Regions from separate parts of the Homo sapiens genome. Here region 2 is linked to region 1. The links are contacts of gene promoters, found by promoter capture Hi-C in human tissues and cell types (Jung and others, 2019). All regions are on one chromosome and are shown on one strand. Each heading gives the region's core, a stretch centred on a gene start or on the middle of the fragment in contact. The rest is flanking DNA. Distances are from core to core; before and after follow the strand shown.

Region 1 (7,776 bases), core at 1,911-4,410:
GAGGGGGTACCTATCTTTGGTGCATTTGGGTTAACCATGTAAAACAGGGGTATCCAGGCTTTTGACTTCCCTGGGCCACATTGGAAGAAGAAGAATTGTCTTGGGCCACATATAAAATATACTAACACTAATGATAGCTGATGAGCTAAAAAAAAAAAAAAAAATCGCAAAAAAATCTCATAATGTTTTAAGACATTTATGAATTTGTGTTGGGCCACATTTAAAGCCTTCCTGGGCTGCAGGTGGCCTATGGGCCATGGATTGATGTAAAGCTTACCAAAAGATAAGGGAATGTGAATGCTTCATATGTCTGTAGTGCTCATAGAGTCTATAATTCATCACATTTGATCCTCACATTTTATAGATGATGAAACTGAGGCTCGGAAAGGTTGTGACTTTCCAAAAGTCTGATAGATAACAGAGTTAGTGCCCTTATCTAGTTCTCCTGACTCCAAATCTAGTGATCTTTCCTATATATTTAAATCCATTTCCTGCAATAGAAATTTTGCTGTTACCTTGGCAACACTGCTGTACAGTGCCTGGAAACCATTGTATTGCCTTCTCTGTGTGCCACGAAGTTAAAAGTTTAACTGAAGTCACCTTGATCACCAATCTCCCAGTCAAATTCCCTTCTTTCTGTGCTTCATTTTATTTATTTATTTATTTTTTAATTTTAGATACAGAGTCTTGCTCTGTTGCCCAGGCCAGAGTGGAGTAGGGCAATCTCAGCTCACTGCAACCTCCACCTCCCGGGTTCAAGCAATTCTCCTGCCTCAGCCTCCCGAGTAGCCAGGATTACAGGCATGTGTTACCACACCCAACTAATTTTTTGTAATTTTAGTAGAGATGGGGTTTCACCATGTTGGCCAGGTTGGTCTCAAACTCCTGACCTCAACTGATCTACCCGCCTCGGCCTCCCAAAGTGCTGGGATTACAGGCATGAGCCACCACACCCAGCCTGTGCTTCATTTTAATGTTTGCTAAGCTTAGTGCACTTGTCACCAAAAGCTTATTCAAGATGGGCTTCTTGGCAGATATATCAAGTATGCTGTCTTTTTTGGTCCTGGTCCAGTCATTCTGTTTCTCTTAGTCCTGGGAAGTAGGTATGAAGTAGGAAGCCTGAGAGACACAAAATAGTAGACTAAGATAAGGCCTTTCCCTTATGTGGGCCTCACTTTCCACCTCTGATATTGTAGTCATTCATCTTTCAACTGCTTTTGTGAGGTGTGGCTATTCAGCAGAGGTGAAGCGCCTTTGCCTTTCTGTTAGTTTGAAGCAACAAACTCTATTTAGAGTGGTTTAGATAATGAGTAGTCTTTATTTTGGAGGAAATAGCCATGCGGCATCTTTTATCAATAAAGGTTGCTACGGATGGTGTAGTTCATTCATTTTTCATCCATTTATGAAGTTAGGAAGGCTCAGATGTGTGATGAGATCCTAAGAAAACTTTAACTACTAGGTCATTTAAGATTTTGCCAGCAGGTGGCACTTCTCTTTACTCACTTGAGTTCCTTAACATGATCTTAGACTTAAGTCTAGCCAGACCCTTACATGGCGGTGGTTCATGCCTGTATTCCCAGCACTTTGGGAGGTCAAGGCAGGCAGATCAGTTGAAGTCAGGAGACAAGCCATGGCCAAGATGGTGAAATCCTGTCTCTACTAAAAATACACACAGAAAAAAAATTAGCCAGGCATGGTGGTGTACACCTGTAGTCCAAGCTACTTGGGAGGCTGTGGCAGGAGAATGGCTTGAACCCAGGAGGCAGAGGCTGCAGTGAGCCGATATCATGCCACTGCACTCCAGCCTGGGTGACAGAGGGAGACTCTGTCTCAAAAAAAAAAAAAAAAAAAAAGTTTAGCCAGACCAAAACATTTCTCTTTCCCTTTGTACTAGTGTAGTCTACAATATCTGTTTATGGATTGTAATATATTTATACCTTCTTTCCACAAGGGATTTGAAGTTGCTTATAACATACAGTATACAATAATAAAATATGTAGAAAGGGAGAATATAAAGAATATATCAAATTTGATTCAGGGTTGCTGGCAGCCACAGCAATGAACGATATGGTTTCATTATCAGGTTTTTGGGTCAATGGGGAGGGGAAGAGAATAACTTTTCTAGGATTCGAAATAAAAAATGGAACTTCTGACTTAGAGCATTTCTGTTGTGCCCTTCTCATTTCTCTAACCTAATTAGTAAGTTATTCTTGGCCTGTAAAAACTAAGGAATACTTACTCCTCTGCAGCCTCAGGGTATGTAATCCGCATTCTTCAGTCTATCAGCTTCAACTTTTCAAGATGCCAGCATCACCCATTCATTCTTCCTGCATAGATTGTCCTGGGCATTGGAAACAAAACCATATGCCTTAGGTTGGTTTGGGTGTGCTCACATCAATTCATGTGAAGAATCCCTTTCTCAAAGGCTGGGCGAGGTGACTTAACGCCTGTAATCCCAGCACTTTGGGAGGCCGAGGCGGGCGGATTACCTGAGGTCGGGAGTTGGAGATCAGCTTGACCAACATGGAGAAACCCCGTTTTTACTAAAATATACAAAATTAGCTGGGCGTGGTGGCGCATGCCTGTAATTCCAGCTACTCAGGAGGCTGAGGTAGGAGAATCGCTTGAACCCGGGAGGGGGAGGTTGCGGTGAGCCGAGATGGCGCCATTGCACTCCAGCCTGGGCAACAAGAGCAAAGCTGCGTCTCAAAAAAAAAAAGAGAAAAGAAAAAAAAAATCCCTTTCTCACTGGTTGGAGAAAGAAGACCTATGTTTACACTCCGACAATATCAGAAAGCTGTGCCAGGCCATGTTATAACCAAAAGCTAAATCTGTGTGATTGGGTTTAATAGGTTTCTAGGGTTGTTAAAAATAAATCGGTAAATTAAACTCTTTCAAGTTTCTAACAGGAAACCAGATTGAAGCTGGCTTCCATTACCAATAAAGTTTGTATTGGATGGTGTGATCCGCAACAGAGTACGCAGTGGTGGGGACTGGCATTAGGGGTGGGCGGGAGAGACCCTAAAAATCCACCGCCCTTCGGCCGCAGGGGACTTCACGGTGATGAGCCCGAGGTGCCCATCAACTCGGGCCTGAAGGACCAGCGTCTTGCCCCGCCCATCGCCGTCTGAGGTTAGGACAAAGATCGAGAGGCTGGACAGGGCTGGGGAGGGCGCTCCAGGGAAGCCGACCTAGCGTCGATTCCTGCAGTTGCGGCCCGGGTCCCCGCGCCTGGAGAGGAGGCGACGCGTGGCCGGCGGCTTTGTGGCGCGCGGGTTCCAGCGCGGGGGCGGGGAGAGGGCGAGCTGAGGGCCTCGAGTCCCAGCACTCCGCCACGCTGCGGGCGCCGGGCATGGCCAGCCCCTTGCCGTCCGGCTTCCCCGCGCGCAGGAACAGCCGCCTGGATGTGTTCCTGCGGCGGCATCTGCCGCCCGAGGTCTACGACGCGGTCCGCGCCTACGAGCCATGCATCGTGGTGTCCAACTCTGAGAACCACATCCTCAAGTATGTGGTGCTAAGCGACCGGCTCGTCTACCTAACCGAGAACCCGCCCAAGTCCATCCGGCGGGTAGTGGCTCTGCGGGACGTCGTGGCCATTGACCTGGTGAGCGGCGCGGGTGGGCAGGCGGGCTCGGGAGCGCAGTGAGAACTCCCGGCTGGGGCCCCCAAACCCAGCCCTCCTGCGCGGGGAGGGCTGCCCCATCCTGCCCTCGACTCCCCTCCTCTTATTTGAGAACGAGGAACACAGGGAAGCTGTGGATTGCTGTGAGCACTCCTAATACAAACACGTCTCCCATTCTCCTCGTGTCTGCCTGTTCACCCATTCTCCCGCCTCCCCTACCCCACGTAGGGCTACAGGTTTGAGAACCGAGCTCCCTATCAAAAATACCTTTTAAAGTCATTCCTTTGTTAACAAAGCACCTAGTCAGTGCCAGGCACTGTGCTAGACTCGGAGGATGCAAAAACGAAAGAGGGCCCCTACCTAGAAGCAGTCGCTGGAGGGCTAGAAAGCCAACACCCGTGCAAATAAATGCTGTGTGTTAAGTGCTGTTATATCTCATTTACTTTTTTGCCCCCGATGCTTAGAGCATGTTAGATGCTCAATAAGAATAAATGCATAAGGCCGGGTGCCGTGGATCACGCCTATAATCCTTACACTTTGGGAGGCCAAGGTGGATAGATCACCGGGGGTCAGGGGTTCGAGACCAGGCTGGCCAACATGGTGAAACGCCGTCTCCACCAAAAGTACAAAAATTACCCAGGCGTGGTCGTGTGCACCTGTAATCCCAACTACTTGGGAGGCTGAGGCACAAGAATCGCTTGAACCTGGGAGGCGGAGGTTGCCGTGAGCCGAGATCGCCCCACCTGCACTCCAGCCTGAGCTACAGAATGAGTGAGACACCGTTCCCCTCCACCCCCTCCCCAGCAAAAGAATAAATGCATGAATAAGCAGATGCGTTAATGAGATGCGCACAGGACGCTTGGCAATCTCAGGCGGCTCACTTGATCCAAACTGGGCGCAGGGCCTGCTGGGAAACGTCTTGGAAGGAGGGGCGTCGACGCTAGGAGCTGGGCTTGAAAGACGTCGGGCCTGCCACAGCCTGTCGCCGGTTTTCGGGTGCTGTTCCTGTACCCCTTTCGTCCAGGAATAGATTTACCTTGTAAACCAGCAACAGACTGGAAGCACGGTCTCCTCTCCAATTACTGTTTTCCCCGCCTGGCTCCCTTTGTCTGAGCTGCTCTCCAGGTGTGTTCTTGGTTTTTCCGTTGGGGACAGGTGTCTAGCCTCGTTTTTTCATTCCCTTGACTGAGCCCCAAGGGAGAGGTTGGCGAGACGCTTGATGGAGCTGTTTTGCTGAGGAGTCATGGCTTGTTTTGAACGAGTCTGTAAGAAAAGAATAAAATTAAATGAAAAAAAAAGATTTTTTTTCTACTCGGAATACCTTTGTGAACTAATGTAACTGTGCCAATTTATTTTCTTTGTTGAGGAAAAGTTCGGGATACAACATTGCTTTTCCTCACTACCATTGTTTCCATTCTCTTGAACTAAAACAATTTTTTTGGAGACAGTCTCACTCTGTCATCCAGGCTGGAGTGCAGTGGCACCATCACGGCTCACTGCCGCCTCAGCCTCCAGGGCTCAAGCGATCCTCCCACATCAGCCTCCCAAGTAGCTGGGACTACAGGCTCATGCCATCACAGCTGGCTAATTAAAAATTTTTTTTTGTAGAGACAGGATCTTGCAGTGTTGCCCAAGCTAGTCTCAAACTCCTGGGCTCAAGTGATCCACTACAGACAAGAGCCACAGCACCTGGCCTTGAACTAAATTTTTTTTTAATTTAAATTTCCTTTACTAAGTGTTTTTTAAAACTTTAGACTGGGTAAGGTGGCTCATGCCTGTAATCCCAGCATTTTGGGAGGCCAACGCAGGGGAATCACATGAGCCTAGGAGTTGGAGACTTAGGTAACCTAGCAAGACACCGTCTCTACAAAAATAAAAATAAATAGCTGTGTATGGTGGTGCATGCCGGTGGTACAAGCTACTTCATAGGCTGAAGTGGGAGGATACTTTGAGTTAAGGAGTTCGAGGCTGCAGTAAGCCATGATCTCACCACTGCACTTCAGCCTGGGTGACACAGCTAGACTGTCTCTAAACAAACAAACAAAACACTTTAAAAGGGGCCAGGCATGGTGGCTCACGCCTGTAATCCCAGCACTTTGGGAGGCTGAGGCAGGTGGATCACCTGAGGTCAGGAGTTCGAGACCAGCCTGGGCCAATGCGCCACTGGGTGTGGTGGCGCATGCCTGTTATCTCAGCTGCTCAGGAGGCTGAGGCAGGAGGATCACTTGAGCCAGGGAGACAGAGGTTGCAGTGAGCTGAGATGGCGCCGTTGCACTCCAGACTGGGCAACAGGAGCAAAACTCTGTCTCAAAAACAAAAAACTTTGAACGCTCAGCTTTTTCTATTGTCTCCAGTGTAAACATTTATTGTTTTGACACAAAAGTAATGATTTTAGGATATTGTTACTCTCCTCCAAAAGAGACATTTATTTATGTCAATAGTGTTATATATCTCTTGTTTTTTTGTTTTGTTTTGTTTTGTTTGGAGACAGGGCCTTGCTCTGTTGCCCAGGCTGGAGTGCAGTGGCCCGATCTCAGTTCACTGCAACCTCTGCCTCCCTGGCTCAAGTGATTCTCCCACCTCACCCTTCTGAGTAGCTGGGACTACAGGCACGTGCCACCATGCCTGGCTAGTTTTCGTATTTTTTGTAGAGACAGGGTTTTGCCATGTTGCCCAGGCTGCTGGGCTTAAACGATCCACCCACCTTGGCCTCCCAAAGTGTTGGCATTACATTACAAGCATGAGCCACTGTGCCTGGCTTGTTTTTTTGTTTTGTTTTTTTTTACCTGTGAGAATCTAAAAAGTACTGTAAAGCTCCTTTGGCCCTGAGCCAAGAATCCTACAAAAAAGGATACCAATTTATTTATTCATGCTTTCTGGACAAGGTTTACCTTTCAGGCATAAAGAATGTGTAATGGCTATAAATGTACTGAACAAATCTAAGTTTTCAACATTGTTGGTAGCTTGAATGTCCATCTTGCACAATATAGTTCAACTTTGGAAGTTGCGATAGGCAGAATAATTAAGCCCCAAAGATAAGCACACGCTAAATCCCTGGAACCTGTGAATATGTTACATGGAAAAGGAGAATTAAGGTTGCAGATGGAATTAAAGTTGCTAATCATTTGTCCTTGAAATAGGGAAATTAATCTGGAGTATCTGGGTGGGCTCAATGTGAACACATCTTTTTTTTTTTTTTTTTTTTTTTTTTTTTTTTTGAGATAGAGTCTCGCTCTGTTACCCAGGCTGGAGTGCAGTGGTGCAATCTTGGCTTGCTGAACCTCTGCCTCCTGGGTTCAAGCAATTCTCCCACCTCAGCCTCCTAAGTAGCTGGGACTACAGGCACGCACCACCATGCCCGGCTAATTTTTGTAGTTTTAGTAGAGACAGGGTGTCGCCATGTTGGTCAGGCTGGTCTCAAACTCCTGACCACCTGGCCTCTTACACTTTTAAAGATGTGTTTATGGCTGGGCGCAGTGGGTCACACCTGTAATCCCAGCACTTTGAGAGGCCCAGGCGGGCAGATCACCTGAGGTCAGGAGTTTGAGATCAGCCTGGCCAACGTGGTGAAGACCCATCTCTACTAAAAATATAAAAATTGGCCAGGTACGGTGGCTCACTCCTGTAATCCCAGCACTTTGGGAAGCCGAGATGGGCGGATCACCTGAGGTTGGGAGTTTGAGACCAGCCTGACCAACATGGAGACACCCCGTCTCTACTAAAAATACAAAATCAGCCAAGCGTGGTGGCACATGCCTATAACGCCAGCTACTTGGGAGGCTGAGGCAGGAGAATAGCTTGAACCCGGGAGGCGGAGGTTGCGGTGAGCCAAGATTGCGCCATTGCACTCCAGCCTGTGCAACAAGAGTGGAACTCCGTCTCAAAAAAAAAAAAAAATATATATATATATAAAAATTAGCCAGCAGTGGTAGCACACACCTGTAAGCCCAGCTACTCAGGAGGCTGAGGTGGGAGAATCGCTTGAACCCGGGAGGCGGAAGTTGCAGTGAGCCAAGATTGCGCCATTGCACTCCAGCCTGGGCAACAGAGTGAGACTCTGTCTCAAAAAAATAAAAATTAAAAATTACAAAAAAGGTGGAAGAGAGGGGCAGAAGAAGAGTCGGTGGCCAACTGATGCAGCATGAGAAAGACTC
Region 2 (7,776 bases), core at 2,269-4,768, 1.3 Mb after region 1:
CGCCACCATGCCCTGCTAATTTTGTATTTTTAGTAGAGACAGGGTTTCTCCATGTTGGTCAGGCTGGTCTTGAACTCCCAACCTCAGGTGATCCACCCGCCTTGGACTCCCAAAGGTATTATCTTTTTGATGTGCTGTCGAATTCAGTTTGCTAATATTTTGTTGAAGATTTTTGTATCTAAGTTCATCTGAGATATCACCCTCTAATTTCCCTTTTTTGTTGTTGTTGTGTCCTTGCCAGTTTCTGGTATGAGGATGATAGTGATTTTGTGGAATGAGTTAGGGAGGAATCCCTCCTCCTCAAGTTTTTGGAATAATTTTAGTAAGATTGATAACAGTTCTTCTCGGTACATCTGATAAAATTTGGCTGTGAATCTGTCTGGTCTTGGGCTGTTTTTTTCTTCGTAGATTTTTTATTACTGATTTGATTTCATTTCTTATTATTGGTCTGTTCGGAATTTCTTCTTGGTTCAATCTTTCACAGTTGTGTTTTCAGTAATTTATCCCTTTCCTCTAGTTTTCTAGTTTGTGTGCATGGAGATGGTTATAGTCATCTCTGATGATCTTTGCATTTCTGTGGCATCAATTGTAATGTCATCTTTATTATTTTTATTGTAATAATTTGAATCTTTTGTTTCTTTTTTCTTGAGTATTCTAGGTAGACTTCTATCAATTTTGTCATTTCAAGAAATAAACTTTTCATTTTGTTCGTTCTTTGTACAATATTTTTTGCCTCAATTTCATTTAGTTCTGCTCTGATATTTGATATTTCTTTTCCTCTACTAGCTTTGGGTTTAGTTTGCTCTTGTTTTTCTAGTTCCTTGAGGTGCCATGTCAGATTGTTAATTTGAGATCTTTCTAGTTTTCTGATGTAGGCATTTAACTCTATAAACTTTCTTCTTAGCATCACTTTTGCTGTATTCCTGAGGTTTTTGTATATTGTGTCTCTATTTTCATTCATTTAAAAAAGACTTTTTCATTTCTGCGTTAACTTTGTTGTTTACCCAAAAGTCATTCAAGAGCAATTTGTTTACTTCCCATGTGCATGTGTGGTTTTGAGAGTTCCTAATTTTATTCCACTGTGGTGCAAGCAAATACTTGATATGATTTTGATTTTTTTGAATTTATTGAGACTTGCCATGAACAAGCATATGGTTGATTTTGGAGAATTTTCCATATGCAGATAAGAAAAGTGTATATTCTGCAGTTTGGGGATGGAATGTTCAATAGAACATTTAAATAGGTAAAGCATGGGGTTTTTCATGGTGAGTATATGACATTATTCATTTGTCAAACCCTATAGAACTTTACAGAAGAAAGACTGAACTTTAATGCATGCAAATTAAAAATAATCATTTAGCAAGTTGGAAGATTCAGGAAGGAATACAGACTGTAACAAGAGAATCTGACTATATCAGAAATGTATGAAACATCCTCCATGAAGAAGGTAGCCAGAAAGGGTGCTGAATGAGATGGAAGCCATTCTTTTTAGAACTGCACATGTGCACTGTACAATAGTTGATAAAAGTATTTCCCATAAGGTATGGGCTAACAATTCAGACACCCCTATACGTGCATACTAAAACCGAACAATTAGGTGATGGAGGGTAGGTGACGATTTCTCACTGTTGGAGTGGGAATTTACAGATAAGCATGGCCAGAAGGCTACAGTGATCTATGAGGTAATTGAACAGTTAGACACATCTGTATGAGCTCATGTTTAACTTAATATAAATGTTTACATATGGAAATGTGTATGGATACCTGTATGTACATGGGTTAGTATACAAACATGTATCTCCTTGCTCTTTCAGTTGAGAAGGTCTAAAAGCAATAATACCAAGGTAACAACAAGCACAATGAACATGAAGGTCTTGTTTTCTAGTACTGTTCTCCAGGTAAAGAAATCAGGGTGCCTTGAAGAAATGTCTCATTCTAGAACTCAGGTGGGAATTACATAAAATGAGCTTGGAGCCTCTTATGGGGCTAGAAACTTAGGAAGTACTCAACAGAAAGAAAAAAAACAACCCTGCATAGACAGGAACATACAAGTTTAGGAATCAAATGGACACAGGAGCCAACTGAGAGAGTTCACTATGGCCAATGTTGAAACAACTTTAGCAACAAATTAAGCCCAACTAGAAATTAAATTTCCATAAGTCAATACAAAAATAAATAAACTACTTAATAAATAACTAGATGGGGGAGAAGAAACAAATCTTCCCTAAGGATAAGGAGCGTAAATCCCCACCTCTTCAGCGTGGGCTGTGCGGAGTGACTCACTTCCAAAGAGTGCTAGTGGAGAGGGGAGAAAACGTAACTTTACAGTGGAGAAAGCTAGCAAACACTACCTGAGCCAGGGGATTAAGGAGAACAGCAACAGTGATAAAGCATCTTGATAGTATGTACCCTCGAATATGATATGATGAGAATGTACTTTACCTCTGTGGTTTTTTTTTCAAAACCCTTAACCCCATTCTAACCATGAGAGAAACATCAGACAAATTCCAATAGAGGAGCATCCTACAAAATGCTTGACTGAGACACCTCAAAACATTAAAGTCATCCAAAATAAGACAGGACTGAGAAACTGTCACCACCAGGAGCCTAAGGAGACATGAAAACTAAATGTAATGAGGTATCTAGGAAGGGATCCTAGAATAGAAAATGGACATTACCCTGAGAAGGGTAGTGGAAAGAGTGGTATGAAGAAAAGTTGATGAATCGGTACAAATATATGGTTTGATAGAAGAAATAAGACCTAGTATCAGATCCGTAAGGTGCCTATGGCTTACAATAATCTAGGTATTGTTTCAAAGTAGTTAGAATAATTCAAATGGTTCTAAAGAAAAGAAAAATATTTAAGATGATATTTATTTAAAGTACATTGATTTAATGTTTACACATTTTATGAACATCGTAAATTGTCACATATGCCCTGAGAACTATGTACATCTGTTACATGTCAATGTAAAAATAAATAACTAACATGGTTGTTCGGTAAAAACTAAGGAAATCTGAATAAACTATGGACTTTAATTAATAATAATGTGACAGCATTGATTAATTGTAACAAATGTACCATACTAAGATGTTAATAATAGAGAAAACTGAATGAGGGGAAAATGTGGGGACTCTATACTATCATCACAATTTTTTTCTGTAAATCTAAAGCTGTTCTGAGAGATAAAGATGACTTTTAAAAATGCTTTCAATTATCTATTATTCATTTACTGATTGGTTTCCATGGGCCAAAGTATAATGAACATACTAAGGAAAATGTGACAGCTTATGTGTAGGCATAATAATATTTTTAAAAATTGAATAAAAAAGAATTATCTTCCTGCTTTTACACTGTTGGTGCGAGTGTAAATTAGTTACACCATTGCGGAAGACAGTGTGGCGATTCCTCAAGGATCTAGAACCAGAAACACCATTTGACCCAGCAATCCCATTATGGGGTATATACCCAAAGGATTATGAATCATTTTACTATAAAGACACATGCACACATATGTTTATTGCAGCACTGTTCACAATAGCAAAGACTTGGAACCAACCCAAATGCCCATCAATGATAGACTGGATAAAGAAAATGTGGCACGTATACACCATGCAATACTATGCAACCATAAAAAAGGATGAGTTCATGTCCTTTGCAGGGACATGGATGAAGCTGGAAATCATCATTCTCAGCAAACTAACACAGGAACAGAAAACCAAACACTGCATGTTCTCACTCATGACTAGGAGCTGAACAATGAGAACACATGGACACAGGGAAGGGTGCATCACACAGGGGCCTGTCACGGGGTGAGGGTCTAGGGGAGGGATAGCCTTAGGAGAAATACCTAATGTAGATGACGAGTTGATGGGTGCAGCAAAACACCATGGCACGTGTGTACCTATGTAACAAAGCTGCACGTTCTGCACATGTATCCCAAAACTTAAAGTATAATTTTTTAAAAAGTTCTTTTAAATAGCATATATTCTACATTTTGGGCTGCTTGTGACTGCAAGGTAATAGTACTCAATAAAGATAGATTAATGTATGTTTTTAAAAAGTCATCCAGACAGAAATATATACAAAATCCACTCAGAGAATCTAAACATACAATGTTCTATCCTATGGCAAAGGAAGGTGTTTGGCTTCTTCCACGGTCCCAAAGGTCAATTACAGGAAACACCCACCAATGACTCAGGAAGAGATGTTCTTTCCATCTGAAAAGAGCGTGATCTAATTCATAACAATCTTAGTACAGAAAATAAAATCACACTGAGGATGTTAAATTCTAAAATATATTCTTTCCTCTTCCTTCTCTGATAGGGCTACGTCTCTCAGCCCCATGGAAGAATGTAACCAGTAGAGACATCCTGGCCACTTTCGCTAGGTGAGTAATTATTTTGTTTAGAGGTACATTATACAGGATTCTGAGAAACTCAAGTTGTTCTGGAACAAAAAATAAGCTTTGACCAAATCTGTTGTAATGGATGGAGATACTGTGTCAGTTAGGAAATGTTCCCGTTAGAGACTCCTTTGCTTTTTCCACCAGGCTAGTTGTTACCTTGCTGTGAGGCATATTGCATGATGTCATGAGGATGCAAGAAAATCACTGAAGAAAGACATTGGCTTATAAATCTGTAAATATGGGACTAGAGAGTGTATCATATCCAGGAAATGTCATGAGAATAGTTATTACAGGAACTATTGGTCCTCTAGGGAATGGCAGGATTTGTTGGATTCCATTTTTGAGTATGAGCCAGAAACAGATCCAAACTAAGAAATATGGATTGGTGACCAGAAAAATATCAACTAACTTTTCTTCTCTAAGAATATTTCTACCAAAAAGCTGTGGTGATTTTGTCATTGTCTTGTTTTATTGTTTACATTTCAGTCTCTTAATTATGTAGCACAGCTATTACCTTGTTCTGTCTAATCCATTAATGAAAGTGGGTCAGAATTTTTCTTCTATGACATCCTCTGCAAGATAAAATTTAAGCTTTGCCTAGGCACGGTGACTCATGCCTGTAATTCCAGCACTTTGTGGGGTCAAGGTGGGTGGATCAATTGAGCCCAGGAGTTTGAGACCAGCCTGGGCAACATGGCAAAACCCCATCTCTACAAAAAATACAAAAATTAGCCGAGTGTGGTGGTGTATACCTGTAGTCCCAGCTACTAGGGAGGCTGAGGCAGAAAAATCACTTGAATTCATGAGGTCAAAGCTGGAGTGAGCTGTGCATGTTTGCACCACTGCACTCCAACCTAAGCAACAGAGTAAGACCCTGTCTCAAAAAAAAAAAAATTAAGCTTTAACATAAGATGCCTGTTTACCTCTTTACCTCATCCCTGGTCCTACTTCCACGAGCACAATAAATTGCAGCCACTAGAAACTCAGTTGTCTCATCTGGGTCTTTGCACAAGCTGCTCCCCATGCCCGGAGTAGTCTGGCAGATCTCCAGCTTATTCAAGAGGTTCATTCTTGCTTATCTTTCAAAATTTTAGCGCAGAACCACTGCTCTGGATGGCCTCCTCTGGCTCACCAGGCTCCCATCTAAGAGGCCATTCCCATTTAATGTTCCATAATCTGTGCTCACCCTTCCCGTAGAACTGATACTGAATCACATTTTTCTATTGCTGTGTCCAGTGCTACTACTAGGCAATGAGTTCTTGAGGCCAAGGACAGTATGTATTATTCTGAGACCCCCAAAATATTGTATATATAATACGTGGCAGTAATGGTCACTAAGGATTGCGGAATGAATACATGAATCAATACAATTCAGTAAATACTTTAAAGCAACAATTAAAAACTATTGAAAAGTTAGTACAACCCAAATGGACACATCAGAATGAAATGTGATCTCCATAACAAATTTATTTTTACAAAAAGACTTCTGTGCTTCCAATCTTGCCCCCATCATCCTTTTTCACTCTGCTACCAAATATTCCTTCTGACGATGCTGTTGTGTTCACAGCCCTTCATGATCTGGCCTGGATTACTTCTCCAGTTTTTTCCTCCCACACCACACTATGGCCATAGTAATTCACTCACAGTTCCCAGCATACAGTAGGCTCATTCTTGAACAGTGCCCATGTGCAGGAAGCTCTCAGTTTGTTTATAAGTGAAAAAGGCTAAGCATCTTGTGCTGTACTAAAGCTTGTAGATTGCAACCAAATGGGAAAATCTTAATTGCATTTAGGTTCAAAGCCTACTATAGCCAGGCACTGAGTTAAGGACCAGGAGAACAAAAACCAATAAAGCATGGTCCCTATTCTCACAGAATTTACTATCTTCTGGGAGTTTTTTAAGATACATAAATATATTTTTTTTATTTTTTAAATCGATGTAGTAAAAGAAAAGCTTGTACAGTTCAGGAAAGACTTCCTAGAAAGTCTTGAAGGATGAAGAAACCTACCAGTTTAAGAAAGGGCACTTCAGGCAAAGAATACAGCTAAAGGCGTGGAGGCGTGACATAGTATAGCATAGACTGAAAAGCTCTAAGTGATGTAAGCAAGGGATGACAGTGGCCTGAACCACAGCAATGGTACTAGCAATGAAGGTGGAGGGCTCAATTCAAGAAATAAATATACAGAGGATCATTGTGGCTTGGTGATTGACGAAATGTGCGGAAGAAGGAGAAAGAGGAAGGTAATGAAATCATAGAGAAGGAGCAGGTTTCTAATAGGATGGGGAAGACAATGAGTTCTAGTTTCAACACTTGGAGTTTAGATACCTGGGATACGTCAAGTCAATATAACCAGTAGACAGGTTGATATAGAAGCAGATATACACAGCAGGAAGTTTTACGTACAACCTGATTAATAGCAGGCTCCATTAATCAGGATGGGAATCTAAGACTATAAGAGCAAATGGTATTTGTTAAGGAGAGCATGTACTGAGGAAGAAGCTCAGAACGACAGAGGAGACGCAAGGGAGTAACAGCTCAGGAAGACGACCAAAGAAGCAGGAAGAAGTTACCCAACAACAGCCGGGAAGGGGACTGAGAGGAGAGGTTCATAAATGCCAAAGGCACAGAGTGTGAAGAAGAAAGAAAATGCAGCAGAACAGTCCAAAAAGATAAAGGCAGGAAAATAAGCAACGGGTTTGGCAAGATGAATGCTTTTGATGCTGACATTGGCAGAGGATTTAGTGGAATGATAGGACTGAAGCCAAATCGAGAGTTGATAAGTGAAAGCAGGTGAGAAGGGGGACACAGTGAGAGTAAGAGGACCCTCAAAGGGGCCTGAATGAGAAGGGAAGAAAAGTAGGACAATGCTGGAGGTGGGCAAGGAGGAGAACTGGTAGTTCCACGGCCAGAGGAAAAATCAAGACGGAGGATCTGTGAGCAGGTTGGAACCTGCAGAGAAGCCACTCACAACAAAAAGATGCAAGATAAAGGAAATCTCACCCATGACCTCCTTGCTGCCTTGGAATGTATCTTTTTCTTGTCTTCTCCTCAGTCTTAATGACTTACCCGACACGTAGGTATCCAATAAATGTCTGCTAAATGGATACATGAGTGAATAAATGATGAAGCAACACCACGGAGGAAACTGCAGAAAGTGATCAAGGGACTAGGGTGACAGACCGACCTTCAGCAAGCAAAAAGACACTTCTGGAAAGGTCGGGTAGGAGGGAAAAATGGATTTCCTTGCCAGGGCTCTCTCACATTGATAAATTAATTTTTTGATCTGGCGAATGTGAGTATTTACGAATCTGCTAATTATTATGCATTAGGGTTTTATTTACTGTTTCAATGCTTCTTAAAAATGAA

The links. Contacts are between HindIII fragments. The study calls those that stand out against the background at their distance.
Region 2: a contact is called between a fragment that was not itself captured here and the fragment with the promoter of C12orf56 in region 1, in 1 of the 25 tissues and cell types used here (H1 embryonic stem cells).

What each region holds. Positions count from the first base shown.
Region 1 is chr12:64,386,142-64,393,917 of GRCh38, reverse strand. C12orf56 (chromosome 12 open reading frame 56) reads left to right here and starts at 3,160. Exons shown (of 13, transcript NM_001170633.2): 1 at 3,160-3,604. The coding sequence starts at 3,353. The HindIII fragment of the contact is 10,638 bases long and covers 630-7,776 here.
Region 2 is chr12:63,106,906-63,114,681 of GRCh38, reverse strand. No RefSeq gene overlaps it. Among named protein-coding and RNA genes, the nearest start is that of AVPR1A, 40 kb to the left of the region's middle. The HindIII fragment of the contact is 4,430 bases long and covers 1,304-5,733 here.